3 separate regions of the Homo sapiens genome follow, and regions 1 and 3 are each linked to region 2. The links are contacts of gene promoters, found by promoter capture Hi-C in blood cells and fetal thymus (Javierre and others, 2016). All regions are on one chromosome and are shown on one strand. Each heading gives the region's core, a stretch centred on a gene start or on the middle of the fragment in contact. The rest is flanking DNA. Distances are from core to core; before and after follow the strand shown.

What was found. Contacts are between HindIII fragments. The CHiCAGO score rates a contact against its expected background, and 5 or more counts as called.
Region 1: a contact is called between a fragment that was not itself captured here and the fragment with the promoter of OR52K2 in region 2, in 13 of 17 cell types (naive CD4 T cells, naive CD8 T cells, total CD4 T cells and 10 more). The highest score is 10.1, in naive CD4 T cells.
Region 3: a fragment that was not itself captured here is called in contact with the fragment with the promoter of OR52K2 in region 2 in 8 of 17 cell types (non-activated CD4 T cells, naive CD8 T cells, M2 macrophages and 5 more); the score reaches 8.8 in non-activated CD4 T cells.

The regions. Positions count from the first base shown.
Region 1 is chr11:4,215,175-4,218,816 of GRCh38, forward strand. No RefSeq gene overlaps it. Among named protein-coding and RNA genes, the nearest start is that of SSU72L5, 16 kb to the right of the region's middle. The HindIII fragment of the contact is 1,988 bases long and covers 308-2,295 here.
Region 2 is chr11:4,447,253-4,451,079 of GRCh38, forward strand. OR52K2 (olfactory receptor family 52 subfamily K member 2) reads left to right here and starts at 2,043. Exons shown (of 1, transcript NM_001005172.2): 1 at 2,043-3,109. The coding sequence starts at 2,088. The coding sequence ends at 3,032. The HindIII fragment of the contact is 8,565 bases long and covers 1-3,827 here.
Region 3 is chr11:4,194,959-4,198,773 of GRCh38, forward strand. The region is part of intron 1 of LINC02749 (long intergenic non-protein coding RNA 2749); the gene reads left to right. Among named protein-coding and RNA genes, the nearest start is that of LINC02749, 9.7 kb to the left of the region's middle. The HindIII fragment of the contact is 3,403 bases long and covers 272-3,674 here.

The sequences.
Region 1 (3,642 bases), core at 52-2,551, 230 kb before region 2:
TCTCTATGTCAGCTCCTCCAGATTCTGTAGCAGTGGCTCACACAGGTGCTTTGGCCATGCCTTTCCAAGGTTGGCCATAGGCACTAGAGTCTAGAGGGAACAGAAGAAACAGCAGAATGATTTAGTAGAGAAGTCACCCTCTCTCTAGTCAGAGAAAGGGCTTCTGGAATCAGCTGTGTGACTTCCTTCTCTCCATGCCCTCTGCCATTTTCCTGACCCCACCTGGGTTACCAAACAGGCTCCTGACTGGTCTCCCCAATCCCCATTCTTGCCCTCGTAACGAATTCTTTATATTGTGGCTATACTAAGCTTTCTAAAATGCACATCTAGTTATTTCATTTCACTTCTTAAAATCCTCAGCACCTCAGGATAAAATCACAATTTCTCAGCAAAATTTACTAGGCTCTGATAGCTTCACCTCAGGTGACCCATCCAACCTCAGTGCCATTACTTCCCTTCAATGTTTCACCTTCCCTTAAGCACCTAAGAATAGGCCCTTCTTTCTCTTCCTGTCTGAAATTTCCATAAGCTGTTCTTCCATTTCTCTGAAAGTCTTTCTCCTTCATTTAGTAAACCCCTATTCACACTTCAGCCCCCAGGTTAGGGTTAGACATTACCTCCTCCAGAAAGCCTTTTCTGATCCCCAGAGATTAGGATGGTTGCTCCTTGTAAGTTCTGCCATCCCAAGATGACCCCATGTTAGTATTTACCACTGTGTTGATTAGATTGTGAACAGCTTGAGGGGACAGAATGTCTTATACCTAAGTAGGCCCAACATTGAGAATACTATGGAGTACACATAAGGTGCTCAAAAAATGTTGCGTGAACGAACCATTAATCGACAAGTGACTCGTGGTGTCTCCATCCCACTGCTTCCTCTCTCTCACCACCATCTTCACTGATAATGTCATGTCCTTCAACATTGATCAACATTGATAATGTCGTGTCCTTCCTCCCACCCCACGGGTGCTTCTCACTTAGCAGCATCTTCATCATTCATATTGTTCATCTCTTCCTTTCTGAGGTGATTCTCTCATCAAGCCCTCTATTCAAATGGTAGCCAACATTGTACCAATGACATCAAAATTGGAGGGTATCAGGTATGCCCTCCTCAACATCCCACCACCCCACCTTCCAACTTGGACTCATCAACACCTATATTCTCCACAGAGGCAGTGAGACCTACTGGCTAAGGGCTCAGGACATTTTTTTGATATGGAGTCTCACTCTGTCACCCAGGCTGGAGTGCAGTGGCCCGATCTCGGCTCACTGCAACCTCTGCCTCCTGGGTTCAAGCAATTCTCCCACCTCAGCTTCCCAAGTAGCTAGGATTACAGGCGTGCACCACCACTCCCAGCTAAGTTTTGTATTTTTAGTAGAGACGGGGTTTCACCATGTTGGCCAGGCTGGTCTCTAACTCCTGACCTCAGGTGATACACCCACCTTGGCCTCCCAAAGTGCTGGGATTACAGGTGTGAGCCACCGCGCCCGGCCAGGCTCAGGACTTTTAAATCAGACAGATTGGGTTCTGAGTGGTAATGACCTTAGGCAATATCTTCATTTCTTAGTCCGTTAGTGGGTAATTCCACGTATTTCCTGGTGTTGCTCCTAAAGGAGACAAAATACCTGAAGTCTTATTACACATACTAGCTAAGAGTGCCAACTCAGTAAACTAATTATTACTTTATTCTTGGCTACTGAATAAAGTGTTCCTGTTTTTCAAGATCACCCGCTACTCCCCTTCAAACCGTTTCATCCCATCTAGGGCCTTGCTACATAAAATATCCTTCATAATTTATATCATCTAAGTCTCCTCAAGATGAAAAACACACTAAATACGTCCTGTCTTCAAAACAACCAGCACAACATTCTACATGTGTCAGGCCCTGCCTCAAGTCCAAATCTCATCTACCCTCCCCCGACAAGCCTATTTTCTGAAGGAGCATTATCTCTACTTGTTCTGTAGCCCAGGGCTATCTCACTTATATCTGAGCACTAGAAAGAAACTGTTCTGGTAAACAAAACTCCTAATTCTTCACATGCTGGAACTCTCTACTGAATTCAAGTTTTGATCAATCTCTGCTTCTTGAAGAAAACTTTTTGGATCCTTTGCTTCAGTGAAACCAACATTTGAGTTCTCTTGTTTATGGGAGAGTCCCTCTTCATTACTTACCCTAAATTTAGAGTCTATTAGGCAAATATTCTGACTTTTAATTCTCTTTCTACATGTTCTCCTGCTGACTCAAATCTGATTTTGAAATGAGGTGGGTTATAAACATATAAGGAGTAGATGCAAGCTTTTTCTCCCACTCATCTGATGGCTTCATCGTGCACCTGTAGGTACCGATGCCACTGAAATCTAAACTTCTATCCAAGGCTTCTTCTCCAAGCCTCAGAGTTGAATATATAAACAGCATTAGGAAACTTTTCTTTTGTATATCTCAAGTTGAATTTGGCAAAAGTAGAACTTCCTACTTTGCCTCAATTATCTATTTTGGTTAGTTGCAAGACTTAAGGTGCAATCACCCTATTTAGAAACCAGGGAATCATCATGGACCTGGACCTTCCTTCATCCAATTGATCATGAAGTTTTAACAAGATTATTTCCTAAATGTTTCTGAGACCTATTCTCTTTTCCATCACTAGGTCATGGTAGACTCTAACTTCTAGTTCAAGTCCAAGGAACCCCTCTCATCACTCCATTTGCAGAGGAAAAACAATTCAAATATGAGCTGTCCAAGGATGCACAGCAATCGGCTTGTAGTTATAGGGGTAGGGCTTATTGAAAGAGGCTAAGCAAAAATACACTGAGAATAAATGCTGTTTTTTTTTTCCTTTGTCCACTTTTGTATGGGGTAATCATTTCTTTCTTTTTAGAATGGTAAGCTCTAGAGGATAAATATTTGGATGAAGGCCATAGGAAAAGGGGCCACAGAGGCCTGTTTAATAGAGACTTCAGGTCTGAGATACAAATGAGTCCTCCCAGCTCACAGTTGGTAGCTCAGTTCATGACATTACCTAGAGTTTGCACCAACATTCAGCTAGTATTAAAAACTTTGCTCACAACTATTGCAAGGACAGAAAACCAAACACCACATGTTCTCACTCATAGGTGGGAATTGAACAATGAGAACACTTGGACACAGGGTGGGGAACATCACACACCGGGGCCTGTCTTGGGGTGGGGAGATGGGGGAGGGATAGCATTAGGAGAAATACCTAATGTAAATGATGAGTTAATGGGTGCAGCAAACAAACACGGCACAGGTATACATATGTAACAAACCTGCACGTTGTGCGCATGTGCCCTGGAACTTAATGTAAGAAAAAAAAATAATTCTGCTCAGGAGGAACATCTCTGTGTATCTTCTTGCTGAGCCTGTGGTGGTAATAGGTAACAGGCAGCTACTTGAGCTCCTGGAGTTCTTAGATGCGGGCATCTCTTTTTCAGAAGATGCAACCAATATTTTCTAACAGGACCTGGAGAATCATTTTATTTTAAAATCCCTCATAGTTCCAATGTTTAGATCACCTGTGGTTCTGTCGCTATTTTTTTCCACATTTTTTTTTAGTTATTTGGTAGTTTCTTGGCATGCTTGGTGTGTGAGTGTGAATGGATAGTGATTTTATATGAAAAAATTA
Region 2 (3,827 bases), core at 793-3,292:
GCACACAAAAAGAGTAGGGACTGGAACACATAGGTCGATCACACTTGCCTTTTGAAATTGGATATAAAGGATGAGGAAGGGGACTGAATCAAGGATTACACCCTGGGTTTCTGACCTAGCTATAGGATGGATGGTAATAATACATACTGAGATGGGCAAGTCATGGAGAGGAAAGAGTTTGTGGAGACAGATTTCTGTTTTGGCCCTATTTTGTTTGAGACTTTAAAGTGGAACTATCCAGTGGGAAGTAGGATATGCTAGTTGGGAACTCAGAGTAGAAGCTAGACAGTTGAGCATTCCCTGAATATTGATTTCTCTTGGCATTTTTACCACCTAAGAGAGCACCTAGAGAAGTATGAGAATAAAAGGGCAACAAAAAGAGGAGAGAAAAGAAGAGAGAGAGAGGGGAATACACAAGCAATGATAAGATCATATAAGGGGAGTAGAGGAGATGGGAGCTAGATTGGAAGGAATTAAAAATTAAGAGATGAGGAATTAGATAATGAATTACTCAACTTTTTCAACAAACATTGTTGTGAAGGAAAACAGTTGCGGGTGTTAGATGGAGGGAGATATAAGGCCAAGGAATGCGGGATTGTGCTGATGTCAAGAAAAACATTTTAAAAAAGGGGGCAGATTTGTGTGGGAGGGGGAATATTGTAATGACAAATAACAGTTTTACAATGCTTTACAGTTTACAGGGACTCTTCTCATGATTTTATCTTTCCTCATCATGAAGCAGTAAAATTGTCATGGAAGATATGGTTATGCCTTCATCTATAGGTGAGGAACCTAAATCTTTAAAAATTTCAGTGATTAATACTAGTTTCTATTGGTAGGCTGATGGCTCAATCATTACTTAAACCCAAGTCTTTAGATTCTAATTTTTTTTCCTATATCATGATAATGAGTTTGAGTTATATTTCTGTTAACTTGAATATGCTGGATTTATACTTCTTAGGAAGCAATGAGGTAGAAGCAGAAGAGTGTAGTGATTTAAGACATTGGATTGGGAGGCAGCAAACCAGAGTTCTCGAAGCTCAAGTTTCATCTTTGACGTTTTCCAACTGTTCTGATTGTTAGTGACTTAGTCTTTTGTTTTCTCAATTCATAAGTGTCCACGTTTACTGAGCACTGTTTCAAGATTTGTGCTAAGTGTTTTAAAAGATCTCAAAATCCCCAAAAGAAAGTTTTTAGGCAGGAGCTGAAAAAAAAGGTGGCACAGGTCAAAAATATTGCAAGGAAATGTTTAAACGTTTTCAAGGGAAATGACAACAGAAGGTGGAAAAAGATAGAATGATAAGGATCCCAGATGGAAAAATAGTGTGAAGGGAATAGGTCAGTCTTGCAAAAAGGTAAGTGTGGGGCATCTCTTCTTCTGAATGTCATGAAGTCCAGGAAGGAAGAAGCACGTAGAGATGAAGGTTAAACTACAGTTAGGCAAAAGAGAACAACAAAAGGGCTTCTCATGTTCTCAAGTTACCTGGAGGTAGGGCTTTAGTTGGAGGGATTTCTGAGTGTCAAACAAGGACCTACGAAACCCTGCTAGAAAAAAAATCTAAAGAACTTGTAGGGAAGTGAATTATTAGAAAGTGCTAACTACATTTATTTTTCATATGACCAAGATTGACATTTCAGGGCAGAAACTCTTTCATAATTGGGAGTGTAGTTTGAATTGGAAGGCAATAGGAAGACAGTGACGGTAAATGTTTGTGGGTATGATTTGAATTAAGCAGCAATCTGTATTATTTACAAAGTTGCTTTTGGCCACATGCAGGCCACAAAAGGCTCTTCCTCCACTTGATTTCTCAATAAGGCTGCTTTGTAATACTAGCTTTATTGGAATTAAATGTCCTGAGCACCCAGTGTTTTTATAAACAGCTTAAGGGCAAGGATCATGCATAATATTTCATGATACATATGATTATTTTCTCATTTCTTTTCATGTCTAAAAATGGGTCTAAGAACTAATCTTCTCACAAGAATGATCAGAGTTTGAATGTGAGCATTGTAATTCTGCTGATATTGAATATTCTCTGGAAGGGCCCTGTGGAAGCAGATAAGGAGGAAGAGAATTCCCAGGAGCCATGTCAGCCTCCAATATCACCTTAACACATCCAACTGCCTTCTTGTTGGTGGGGATTCCAGGCCTGGAACACCTGCACATCTGGATCTCCATCCCTTTCTGCTTAGCATATACACTGGCCCTGCTTGGAAACTGCACTCTCCTTCTCATCATCCAGGCTGATGCAGCCCTCCATGAACCCATGTACCTCTTTCTGGCCATGTTGGCAGCCATCGACCTGGTCCTTTCCTCCTCAGCACTGCCCAAAATGCTTGCCATATTCTGGTTCAGGGATCGGGAGATAAACTTCTTTGCCTGTCTGGCCCAGATGTTCTTCCTTCACTCCTTCTCCATCATGGAGTCAGCAGTGCTGCTGGCCATGGCCTTTGACCGCTATGTGGCTATCTGCAAGCCACTGCACTACACCAAGGTCCTGACTGGGTCCCTCATCACCAAGATTGGCATGGCTGCTGTGGCCCGGGCTGTGACACTAATGACTCCACTCCCCTTCCTGCTGAGATGTTTCCACTACTGCCGAGGCCCAGTGATCGCTCACTGCTACTGTGAACACATGGCTGTGGTGAGGCTGGCGTGTGGGGACACTAGCTTCAACAATATCTATGGCATCGCTGTGGCCATGTTTATTGTGGTGTTGGACCTGCTCCTTGTTATCCTGTCTTATATCTTTATTCTTCAGGCAGTTCTACTGCTTGCCTCTCAGGAGGCCCGCTACAAGGCATTTGGGACATGTGTCTCTCATATAGGTGCCATCTTAGCCTTCTACACAACTGTGGTCATCTCTTCAGTCATGCACCGTGTAGCCCGCCATGCTGCCCCTCATGTCCACATCCTCCTTGCCAATTTCTATCTGCTCTTCCCACCCATGGTCAATCCCATAATCTATGGTGTCAAGACCAAGCAAATCCGTGAGAGCATCTTGGGAGTATTCCCAAGAAAGGATATGTAGAGGGTGAGGTGGAGAAAGAATGGGTTGGCTTGTCTGCTGGAGTTGGAGACAGGCTATGGTAGAATGTGCACGGCTGCCAGGATCTTCATGTTTAGTTTTTTCTTGGAAAAAAAAAAAATGATGTCCTGAAACTCAGAGCCACCAGTCTGTTCAGGACTCATGGGTCTGTGTCCTCTGGTAGCCTGTGGATTGAATGTGCTGACTGTGCTGTCTTCTCACAGTGCCCTCACCCCTATCAGTAACTTGACAGAGACTTGACCCATGGGTCTCCAGGTGACTTCACCGAAAGACACAAAGATGCTTCCAACTTCATTTGCTGAAGAGAAGACTTTGAAAATCTGAGTTTCTTTTCTTAGTCATTGGGAATTTGGTGAACTATCTACTCAGGACCTGGGTGAGGGCCAACAGTATATCTGACATAGGAATCCTTCATTCATTCTGACTGGTGGTGTCCAGCTTCTGATGAAACACTCAGTGTTAGGAAGTTTGAAACATTCCAGGGCTGCAGGTTCTGAGTAAGACACCTATGCTTGCTAGAAAATCATTTTTTCACCTAAGCCAGTATGTGTATTCTTTTGCTTATATTTACCAATCCATCCTTATGTCCAATTCCTTTTATTAAGTACTTTGAATAAGACATGTCCTCTGGCTTTATGTTTCATGCAACTCTTTCTTTGCACATAGATGTATCTTATGTTTTCAAGAATGAGAATGGCTCATTTATTTACTAATTCCACCAAATCTGTGATAGGGGATGGGGACACATATACTAAATTAGGGGTGTCAGACTTGTGT
Region 3 (3,815 bases), core at 723-3,222, 250 kb before region 2:
TTCTTTTTTGAGGGGTACAGGACAATTATTTTGTAGAATGACCTTATTTGGGTTTGTCTGATGTTTCCTCATGATTAGATTCCAGTTATGTATTTCTGGCAGAAATGCCACAGAAGTGATATTGTGTCCTTCTCAGTGCATTGTTATCAGGAGGCACATGATGTTGGTTTTTGTCCCACTGCTGGAGATAATAACTTTGGTCACTTGGATAAGGTGGTGTCTGCCAGGCTTTGTCTGCCATTGCAAAGTTAATATTTTCATTTGGTAATTAAGCTTTGGGAAATACTTTGAGATGATATAAATATTCTGTTTCTCATCAGACTTTACCCACTAAATTTTAGCATCCTTTGATGATTAGTGTTTGAGGTATAATGGTTGTAAAATGGTGAATTTTCTGCTTCCATTATTTCTCATACATTTATTAGTTGTTACTCTACTGTAAGGAAGAGTTTACCTCCCTCCCTCCCAATCCATCCATCCATCCATCCATCCATCCATCCATCCATCCATCCACCCGCCCATCCATCCATCTACCTACCCACCCATCTTCCATTCAGTCAGTCTGGATTCATAGATATTTATTTTATTTAATTAGTTATGCTTTGTTACTAGCATTGGTGATTTTGATGATCAAAATTATCCCAGATTAGTCCTGTGAGAGCTCCTCCAAGTTGATTCTTGTGTCTTTTTGACACACTGCTATTACTTTTTGAGCACTTCCTTACTTTCTGTTACTACAAGATATTCCAGGCTCATCTTGTACTTTCCCGGCTCAAACTCTGTAATCTGGTATTTTTCTAAGAAACCCTGATTCCTTTTAGCAGAGAATTGTGTATAAAAACAAACCAAGACCTGGAATAGGTCTGTTCATTGCCAGAGTGTTGTTATTTTTAGGCCCTGTCATACATATACACACATGTGTGTGTAGTATATATATTATGTAAATATGCACACACACACATGCAAATCCATTCATCTATCTACCTACCTACTTACCTACCTATCTTTCTTAAAAACCATGAGTTCATACTGATATGACCAGTTCCAATCCAACACTCTAGAGTTCATTTTAACCTTCTCTCTTTCCATATATGTAATTTCCTTCTCCAACCGTGAAAAACCTGGTTTCAGTTACCCACAGTATATTTACTTATTTGCTTAATCCTAGAATACACAGAATGTAGTTTCAGAATTGTTAACTCATGCTGGTGTGGGAAACAAATCTATTAAACAGAGTTCAATATTTGCTACTGTCTTTTTGCCCTAGCCTGAGAATACAGAGGCAAAGTACTGCTTCAAAACTTCTGTTATCACCCCCTACCCGTACTGTGTTTTGTCATTCACTTAACCTACAGTTCGGTACACTTGCTTCCATATGTATTCAATGCTAATGTTTCCTCCTTTTATCCTTGTTGATTGTATTTACTGAAAAACTGAGTACATGAAACATTAACATGGTTGTAAAAGTCAGAACAGATCTGTACAAAAACATGAACTCAGAGAAGTGTCACTGCCCTCCATCTTCTCTACCTTGCTCCCACCATCTTATTCTTTTCACCCATCAGGCTAAAAAAAGACATCAGAGAAAAATATATCCTAATATGTTGAGTTTATTCGGGAGTAAGCAAAAGGATTATAATCTGGGAAGCACAGCTGTAGCAAGCCATAGGTACAGGTACATCAAGCCAAAGGTAAAGGGAAATTTTTACTGGCAAGGAGAAGCTATGTAAGCTGCTTGGAGACAGAGTTCATTGGTTCTGGAGGCTCAAAGCTAGAATTAGCATCAGTTCATTGGTGGAGATGCCACTGCTAGGCATCGGCCTAGCATCTTATCAGAATTGCTACAGTCCTAAAGAATGTATAGTGATAAACCTGGTCATAGAAATATGTGCATGCATGTAAAATGTAAAATGCATGTAAAATGTAGATCATGAAAAGCATGAGATGTATAAAAGATGAAGGAATTTCTCGTGGAGTTATTTTAGAAAGTCCTTGAAATAGTCCTTATCTCAGATGTGCAAGCATGAGCTGTGCTCCTTTGTGTGTTCTGGCTCCAGTTTGCTCGGGTCTGACAAAAGTGACTTATTTTGCTATCTGCAACTTTAGTCACTCCATTTCCACCCACTCCTGTATGGAACCAATCTCATTAGTTTCTGGGTTTCCTTTCCTAAGTTTCTTTTTGTATAGTTGTGCAGACAAATATATATTTTCTTATTCCCCTTTCTTTCTTGCACAAAACGTGGCATACCATAAACACTTTCTCACACTTTGCTTTTTAAATTTAACAGCATATCTTGGGAGCCATTCTATATCAGTTTATAGATGTCATCCTCATTCATTTTTATAGCTGCAGACTATTCCATTCGATGATGTACCATAGTTCATTCAACCATTTTCCTATGTAAAGTCATTTTGGTTGTTTCTAATATTTTTCAATTATAAACAATGCTACAATGAAAATCCTTAAACATATGTATTTTTGTATATATTTGAATATGTATTACCAGGATAAATTATAAAAAGGGGGAAAAGCATGTGCCATTTTGTTTGATATCATCAAATTCTCCCCCATTAAGGTTGTACTAATTTCCATTCCCATCAGAAATGCTTGAGCATCTACTTTCTTCAAGCCTTGCCAACAGAACGTGTTAGTGTATGTTTACATTTTTGCCAATCTGCTAGGTGAGAGATAATATCTCAGTGTTATTTTAATTTGCATTTCTCTTATTATAGTTGAGGCTGAATGTTTTTTCACATGTTTACGGGACATTTTAATTCTTTTTTCAGTCAATGGTCTGTTTATGTCTTTGACTATTTGACCATTTTTATATCAGGTTTTTGAAACTTCTATCGAGTAGAAAAAGTTATTTATATATTAGCGATATTACATATGTATCTGTGTTATATATTACCGATCTTTTCTCTCAGTGTTTAATTTATTTTGGGATTTTTTTTTTTTTTTCTGCGACAGAGTCTTGCTCTGTTGCCCAGGCTAGAGGGTAGTGGTACAGGCTCGGCTCACTGCAACCTCCCCCTCCCAGGTTCAAGCGATTCTCCTGCCTCAGTCTTCTGAGTAGCTGGGATTACAGGTGCCCGCCACCACGCCCGGCTAATTTTTGAATTTTTAGTAGAGACGGGGTTTCACCACGTTGGCCAGGCTGGTCTTAAACTCCTGACTTCAGGTGATCTGCCTACCTTGGCCTCCCAATGTGCTGGGATTACAGGCGTGAGCCACAGCACCCGGCCAGGACTTTTCTTTTTTCTTTTTTTTTTTGAATAAAATAATTTTATTTTTGTATAATAAAATAATTTTATTTTTGTATAATAAAATAATTTTATTTTTATATAATACAATTTATCAGTCTTTTATTGTTTTGGATGAGTTCACTTCCATTAAATCCAGGGAAGTGAAATTATATATGTGACCTTAATATGAGTTTTAATAATCTACTTTTCAATTTTTCAGTATTTTAAATATTTCTTTAATGTTCTGGAAAAAATAGCCACTAGCAAATACAGAAATACGTGTACACAGGGGCACACATTTTTCCTTTTGTCTCTGTCTCCAGTACGTCTCAGGGCAGCACTGAGCAGAGGCCTATGGGCCATCTCAGTCTTTCATTAGAGCCAGTAGCCAAAACATATCTGTCCAAGAGCTATGACAACAGCAGCAAAGCTTGTGGAAGCCTCAGCCAACTTAGTCCTAGAGTTTCCACCAAACTGAATGGTTCCCCATAGTGAACACTGTTTTACTGAGAGAAAACAGTCAGCGCTTCTTGGTTATCCACCTCCCTAAGAGTTATAATAGCGATAGA